3 separate regions of the Homo sapiens genome follow, and regions 2 and 3 are each linked to region 1. The links are contacts of gene promoters, found by promoter capture Hi-C in blood cells and fetal thymus (Javierre and others, 2016). All regions are on one chromosome and are shown on one strand. Each heading gives the region's core, a stretch centred on a gene start or on the middle of the fragment in contact. The rest is flanking DNA. Distances are from core to core; before and after follow the strand shown. Region 1 holds the start of KRT82 (keratin 82). Region 2 has its middle 17 kb from the start of EIF4B. Region 3 has its middle 19 kb from the start of KRT18.

The links. Contacts are between HindIII fragments. The CHiCAGO score rates a contact against its expected background, and 5 or more counts as called.
Region 2: a contact is called between a fragment that was not itself captured here and the fragment with the promoter of KRT82 in region 1, in 3 of 17 cell types (M2 macrophages, M0 macrophages and naive CD8 T cells). The highest score is 6.1, in M2 macrophages.
Region 3: a fragment that was not itself captured here is called in contact with the fragment with the promoter of KRT82 in region 1 in 7 of 17 cell types (M2 macrophages, M1 macrophages, M0 macrophages and 4 more); the score reaches 10.4 in M2 macrophages.

What each region holds. Positions count from the first base shown.
Region 1 is chr12:52,405,062-52,407,644 of GRCh38, forward strand. It overlaps KRT82 (keratin 82), which reads right to left and starts at 1,274. Exons shown (of 9, transcript NM_033033.4): 1 at 806-1,274. The coding sequence starts at 1,216. The HindIII fragment of the contact is 6,676 bases long and covers 1-2,583 here.
Region 2 is chr12:52,987,987-52,990,569 of GRCh38, forward strand. No RefSeq gene overlaps it. Among named protein-coding and RNA genes, the nearest start is that of EIF4B, 17 kb to the right of the region's middle. The HindIII fragment of the contact is 7,088 bases long and covers 1-2,583 here.
Region 3 is chr12:52,967,267-52,969,849 of GRCh38, forward strand. No RefSeq gene overlaps it. Among named protein-coding and RNA genes, the nearest start is that of KRT18, 19 kb to the left of the region's middle. The HindIII fragment of the contact is 7,174 bases long and covers 1-2,583 here.

The sequences.
Region 1 (2,583 bases), core at 24-2,523:
CCTGGGGCGTGGGATGGACCCAGAGGCTGTTGAGTCCTTCAGCACCTTCAGAAGGCATGCCACATCTTTTCCTGCAGTGGGTGCTGTACTGTAGATGTGGGAATCTGCGCTCTTCCTGCAGTGGGTGCTATACTGTAGATGTGGGAATCTGCACTGTTCCTGCAGTGGGTGCTGTGCTGTAGATGTGGGAATCTGCACTGTTCCTGCAGTGGGTGCAGATTCAGTTCAGCACCTTCTGAAGGCATGCCTTCCTAGCAGCCTTTCAGTGGCTCTGGAGATGACAGATGTAAGACTTTTGTGACCGTCACCCTGTGCCTCTAGCTCTGACTGTCCACTTTCCTCTCATCCCAGGCCTAAAATGATTGGAAACTCTGAGGTCACAGTGTCCATCCTCACCTTCAGGCTCAAGAGTTGTGACACAGCTCAGGCACACAGAAGGCGGTTCTACTGTTAAAGCCTCATCAGGAAGGGCATTTCTCTGCCTCTCTGGTCATTCCTTTCAGTATTGCTTTGGAAGTTCCTCTTATAGTCTGACCTCAGGCAACCTTGGTGATTGGTGATTTTGTCAGATAATATTCAGAGAAAGATGATATATTTTAAGAAAGACAAGGAAGCAGAAATGTTTAGTGCAGAATCTGATCTAACTGGCTTTCAAAGGCTGGTGGTCGTGGAATGTGAGGGAGGCCACTGGATAAACTGAGGCCTCCTCAATGTCAGTCTCCTCCTGGTTCCCTTGGACCAGAACAAGACCAGACCCCAGATCTGCAGTGGGTCCTCTCACGGCCCTGGGCCACTGCCCCCTTACCTTGTTGATGAAAGATGCGAAACGGTTGTTGAGGCACTTGATCTGCTCCTTCTCATCCCTCTTTACCCTCTGCACAGTCGGGTCTATCTCCAGTGCCAGTGGGACCAGCAGGCTCTCATTGATGGTGACAGGGGTGATGCAGGCAGAAGGCCCACAGGTGGCTCCCAGTCGGTACCCGAAGCCAGGCAGGGTACCTCCACACCTGGAGGCTACCCGGGGCCTCCCAAAGCCCACGTTGCACAGGCTCCGTGAGCCAAGGCAGCCCAGAGCTCGGAGGCCCCTACCACCCCCGGGCCGGCATGGCCCCTTGCTCACTGCATAGTGGGTGACCATCCGGGGCATGACAGCCGAGTATGAGCTGAAACTCTGACTGCCACACCTGGAGCCTGGCTGGAAAGAGTGGTACGACATGGCAGGAGAGAGAGGCAGAGAAATGCGGCCCTGGAGGAAAGAACCGGGGCAGGATGATCAAGTCAGGCTCAGCTTCCCCCCTTTTATCTGGTAGGGGGATGGAGGACTGAGATGTGTCAAACCCCAAATCACCATTAAACTAGGTTTATGAGCTTGGGATATTGGCAGAGCTAAGTAGCAAGGTGGATAATTAGGGTAGCGAAGAGCAAAGAGAAGGGGCCAATGGTCAGTGCTGGTGGGCCCTATAAAAATCCTATTTGTCCTCCTTCCTTGATTGTGGGGGTGATGAAAGGGGCCAACCAGACAGATATGTTCCATGTATCCAGTGGCTCAGCCTCAAGGAAAGGGAGAGTTGGGACTACGTCATTTCATAGGAGGGGAGGCGTGCCATGAATTATACACCCTGGCTTCTCTGGGATTAGAGGGCAAGTCCCATATGCTTAAAGATGCTCTGGCTCTTTCCCCAAGGCTGCTCCTAGGCTTTTTTGCAGATCCTCAACCCAAGTGCCCTCTGTGGGCTCCTAGGTGAGTCAGGAAGTTCCCAGGAGGAAGGCTTTTGGGGTGGGAGAATCCTCCCTACAACAGGCCGGACCTTAACCCTCCTGAGCTCTGGCTCAGTGACCCACTGTCCCATGAGGGTCTTGAAGGTAGACAGACTCCAGGCATAGACACTTTTCTACAGGGCCCATCAGTCCACAAAGGCTGCAGGGAACTCAAGAGGAGAGGCCTGGTGCTTGAGAAGGGCAGAGGAAGGGACGCTCTCCTCAACACTTCTGGGGCCCCCAGAAGGCATGATTTCAGCATCAGGTCTCGGCTTCCATGTGGCTGTTCCTTTCCCCTTTTGCCCAACCCAGCCTGAGTGTCCCTGAGGTCAACAGAGCCAGCTTTGGCCTGAGGATGTCTCTGGGGAGAGTTGTTGCCCTTGGGAATTTTCAGGTGGAGGTGGGATTCAGGTTTTCTTTCCAGCTCAGGTCGCAGACACAGCTCTTTGGAGATGTCTGAAGCCCCCGCCTCACTCTCTTTCCTCCTCTTTTCCATCAATTTCATCAGTGAAACTTTTGCCATGGCCGAATGGCCTTTCCCTTCCACACTGAGACTTATCACCAGGTCAAAATCAAACCAATAATAATAATAATAACAATAATAAACATTTATTGGGCATTTATTGTGTGTTGGGACCACTCCGTACTCTTTACATCCATGGTCTCATTTAATTCTCTGACCACACAATGAGATAGTTACTATGCCACAGACAGGAAAATGGGAAGCACAGCAGTTAAGAGCAACATCCCCAAGTCACACAGCTTGTGGCTGATCAGCTGGGAGTCCATCCTGTTCCTTTTGACTTCACCCTGCCATGCTGCTCC
Region 2 (2,583 bases), core at 61-2,560, 580 kb after region 1:
CCAGGAGGCGGAGGTTGCAGTGAGCCAAGATCGTGCCACTGCACTCCGGCCTGGGCAACAGAGCGAGACTCCATCAAAAAAAAATACAAAAATACAAAAATTAGCTAAGCATGGTGGTACATGCCTGTAATCCCAGCTACTTGGGAGACTGAGGCAGGAGAATTACTTGAACCCAGGAAGCGGAGGTTGCAGTGAGCTGAGATCATGCCATTGCACTCCAGCCTGGGTGACAAGAGCGAAACTGTGTCTCAGAAAAAAAAAAAGAAAGAAAGAGATGTTTGTTGTTGGCCGGGCGCGGTGGCTCACGCCTGTAATCCCAGCACTTTTGGAGGCCGAGGTGAGTGGATCACCTGAGATCACCTGAGGTCAGGAGTTCGAGAGTAGCCTGGCAAACCTGGTGAAACCCCGTCTAAAAATATAAAAATGAGCCAGGTGTGGTGGTGGGTCCCTGTAGTCCCAGCTACTCCGGAGGGCTGAGGCAGGAGAATTGCTTGAACCTGGGAAGTGGAGGTTGCAGTGAGTCGAGATTGCACCAGCCACTGCACTCCAGCCTGGGCGACAGAGTGAGACTCCGTCTCAAAAACAAAAAAGAAATGTTTGTTGTTTAAGCCACCCTGTCTATAGTAATTTGTTACAGCAGAACTGACTAAGACAGACACAAGATCAAGGTGGGAGAAAGTGTAACTTGACCCAGCTCTGTGATGAGTTTATCCATAGCTCCTTCCTCTATTACATTTACCTTTGATTTGTCTATTAGATAATACTCCACTATTTATATATTCATTACTCATTTATCCACAGATATACAATAAAAACATTAATCAGGTGAATTACTTTCTTATCAATACCTGCCAAGAAAATACAACTAACTATAAATTTGTAATAAACTCCCAAGGGGCAGAGGTTGGGTTTTTAGTTGCTTCTCAAACATACCCCATCATTCAAAAGTCTGAACTGGAAAGTAAGAAGGAAAAGAAGGAGAACTTTAGTATGCTAGTGTCAAACAAGCCTGTCCTAATAAGCAACCCCAAACTGCTCTCCTGTCTGGGTCCAGAATTGGGTTTGGTTTTGAAATACCACGTGGGAAATTTCTAGCCAAAGTCCTCACCAGTTCCTCCTTTGACTAACAATCTCCAACCCAGGAAGTGGGAACTACAGAGTCTTTGGTAGAGGTGGTTGGATTTACTCAAGAAAAAGCCCCACCTGAACTCCCCAAGCAGAAATCTTCATTAGAAAAATAAACAAAACGACCGGGCGTGGTGGCTCATGCCTGTAATCCCAGCACTCTGGGAGGCCGAGGCAGGCGGATCACGAAGTCAAGAGATCGAGACCATCCTGGCCAACATGGTGAAACCCCATCTCCACTAAGAATACAAAAATTAGCTGGGCGTGGTGGCACACGCCTGTAGTTCCAGCTACTCAGGAGGCTGAGGCAGGAGAATTGCTTGAACCCGGGAGGCAGAGGTTGCAGTGAGCTGAGATCACACCACTGCACTCCAGCCCAGTGACAGAGCAAGACTCTGTCTCAAAAAAAAAAAAAAAAGTAGAAGAACATTAAAAAAACAGGTTTAGGCTGGGTGCAGTGGCTCACACCTGTAATCCCAGCACTCTGAGAGACCAAGGCAGAAGGATCACTTGAGGCCAGGAGTTTGAGATCAGCCTGGGCAACATAGCAAGACACCCATCTATACAAAAAATTTTAGAAGTTAACTGGGTGTGGTGGTGCATGCCTGTAGTCCAGCTACTCAGGAGGCTGAGGCAGGAGGATTGCTTGAGCCCAGGAGTTCAAGGTTGCAGTAAGCCATGATTGCACCACTGCACCCTAGTGTGGGCAACAGAGCAAGACTCTGACTCTAAAAAACAACAAAAACTGCTGGACGTGGTGGCTCATGCCTGTAATCCCAGCACTTTAGGAGGACGAGGTAAGTGGATCACCTGAGGTCAGGAGTTTGTGACCAGCCTGACCAACATGGCGAAACCCCATTGCTACTAGAAATACAAAAATTAGCCAGGCATGGTGGTACACACCTGTAGTCTCAGCTACTCAGGAGGCTGAGGCAGGAGAATTGCTTGAACCCAGGAGGTGGAGGTTGCAGTGAGCCAAGGTCGCACCACTTCACCTCAGCCTGGGCAACAGAGCGAGACTCCGTCTCAAAAAAAAAACACACACACACACACACACAAAAACAAACAACAAAAAAAAACCAAAACAGAAATGAGGTTTACATGTTACAAGGCCCTGAAGAAGAGGAAAAAAACTGTGTATAAAATACCACCTGGATAAAATAAGCCAAATACACAACTAAATGGGAGACCAGGCCAACAGGATGTCTTGGGAAGATGTCTTGAAGTAGGAGGGGCTTCTCCTGCAAAGGATTTGGCAAGACTAAGAGGGAGCAGGCATTCCAGATGAAGAGAATGATGAGTAACATGGAAAAGCCCAGCGTCCGCTCCGGGCCAGGCAGAAGTTGAGGTGACAGATATAGTAGGAAAAGCAAGCTGAGGGCAGTTCATGCAGAGCTTTCAATGCTGGAGAGTAGGGCCTTGGAAAGAGATGTGGTGACACAGTAAGAGCGCTCTTTC
Region 3 (2,583 bases), core at 46-2,545, 560 kb after region 1:
CGGAGGTTGCAGTGAGCCAAGTTTGTGCCATTGCACTCCAGCCTGGGTGACAAGAGTGAAACTCCATTCTCAAAAAAATAAATAAATAAAATAAAATAAATAAACAGATGGTTCAAGTTTGGCCTCTCCCAGTAGGAATCCTCTTTGTGGCCTTCCTAACATCTGGCCTCCGTTTGAAGAATTTATGACAGTATAGCCCCTGTTGGATAATAATTGTATAATTACTGGAACATTATTGTTCCTTCTACTGGGCTGAAATCTGCCTCCTACTAACCTTCTAAACTCAGCTCTGCCCACTAGAGTTACACAGAACTCCCTCTTCCATTAGATTTCAGCCATAAGTGATTATTCTTCCCCTAACCTGTATAAAAGCAGCCCCAGTCACGGTGTAAGGATTTAGCTGCACTGCTGGCCTCAACCTCACCTGCCTGAATGAGCTGGAAAATAATTATCTACACAGAAACAGCCCAAGGAATTAGAATGATAGTGATGCTCAGATCCGGGGAGGCTGTGTCCCCCTGAAGGCCCTGGTCAGATCCTGGTGAAGTGGATGGTGCTGCCACAGGAGGGATGTAGGGTAAACTTCTCAGAGACTCAGGGCACTCCAGTGATCTGGGCCCAAAGCACACAGTTCCTTTTCCTCTCCCCACAATCCACACTGGAGCAGCAGGCTCTAGTGGGCCCCTCCCAGGCTGGCAGAACTTTCCCTATCACCCACTCCCCAGAAGCAAAAAAAGTTTAAAAAGCACCAGCCTAAGGCTGGGTGCAGTGGCTCATGCCTGTAATCCCAGCACTTTGGAAGGCTGAGGCGGGCAGATCACAAGGACAGGAGTTCAAGACGTGCCTGACCAACATGGTAAAACCCCGTCTCTACTAAAAATACAAAAATTAGCCAGGCATGGTGGTGCATGCCTGTAATCCCAGCTACTCGGGAGGCTGAGGCAGGGGAATTGCTTGAACCCGAGAGGCAGAGGTTGCAGTGAGCCAAGATCATGCCATTGCACTCCAGCCTGGGCAATGGAGCAAGACTCCGTCTCAAAAAAAATAAATTATTGTACATTTAAAAATAACTAAAAGAGTATAATTGGATTGTTTGTAACATAAAGGATAAATGCTTGAAGTGATGGATGCCCTGATGAGATTATTATGCATTGTATGCCTGTATCAAAATATCTCGTGTACCCTAAAATAGATACACATACTGGGTACCCACAAAAATTAAAAACTTTTTTTTTTTTGAGACAGAGTTTCACTCTTGTTGCCCAGGCTGGAGTGCACTGGCTCAATCTCGGCTCACTGCAACCTCCGCCTCCCAGGTTCAAGTGATTCTCCTGCCTCAGTCTTCCGAGTAGTTGGGATTACAGGCGCCCACCACCACACCTGGCTAATTTTTTTTTTTTTTTTTTTTTTTTGGATTTGGAGTAGAGACGGGGTTTCGCCATGTTGGCCAGACTGGTCTCGAACTCCTAACCTCAGGTGATCCACCTGCCTCGGCCTCCCAAAGCGCTGGGATTACAGGCATGAGCCACCAGACTCAGCCAAAATTAAAAACTTTAAAAAATAAATTAATAACCACAGCAGTAGCTAGTAGCTAATGGCTACCAGATTGGACAGGACAGTGCAGCACCAGACTGTAAGCTCCCTTTGAGCAGAGACTGGACTATCTTGTTCACTCTTATGCCCTGATACATAACACAATTCCAACACATAAACAGCAGGTTGTTATTTTCTTTTTTAAAGACAAAAATTTGAAATTGTAATTTTTATTAAATTGTAAATAAAATGTTATTTTATTTTATTTAATAACCTATAGCATTTGCCAATATCCAAGGTATAAATACTGCTGTCATGGTTGATTTAAAATGGTTTAATTCTGGGAAGCAAAATTTTCAAATTTAACAATCTTCTCTTACTAGCTTTTGAATGAATAAGCAAATGAATGAACAAATAAATGAGCAAATAACAAACCAAGAGGAGTCTCTGCATGCCTCACCCAAGGAAAAGAGGACAAAGGAGAGTAGAAGAATATTTCAAGATGCCAGCAGTCCTCTCACTCTCTTTGCAGGTCCTCTTTGTTCCAGGAAAGAGAACTTAGTGGGAGAACAATTGAACTTCCTCAGCTTCGCTTCACACACACCCCAGCTTTAAGAAAGCCCAGGAAGAATTTGTTTTTTTTTTTTTTTTTGAGACGGAGTCTTACTCTGTCACCCAGGCTGGAGTGTAGTGGCGTGGTCTCGGCTTCTCAGCTCACTGCAACCTCCACCTCCCAGATTCAAGCGATTCTCCCGCCTCAGCCTCTCCAGTAGCTGGGATTACAGGTGTGCACCACCACGCCCAGCTAATTTTCGTATTTTTAGTAGAGACAAGGATTTCACCACGTTGGCCAAGCTGGTCTCAAACGCCTGACCTCAAATGATCCACCTACCTCGGCCTCCCAAAGTTCTGGGATTACAGACATGAGCCACCTCACCTAGCCTTTGGATTACAGACATGAGCCACCTCGCCTAGCCTTTTTTTCTTTTTAAGGAAAAAAAGAAAAATAAAATCTCATCTTAATCTGCTCCATTTTTTTTTCTTTTTAAA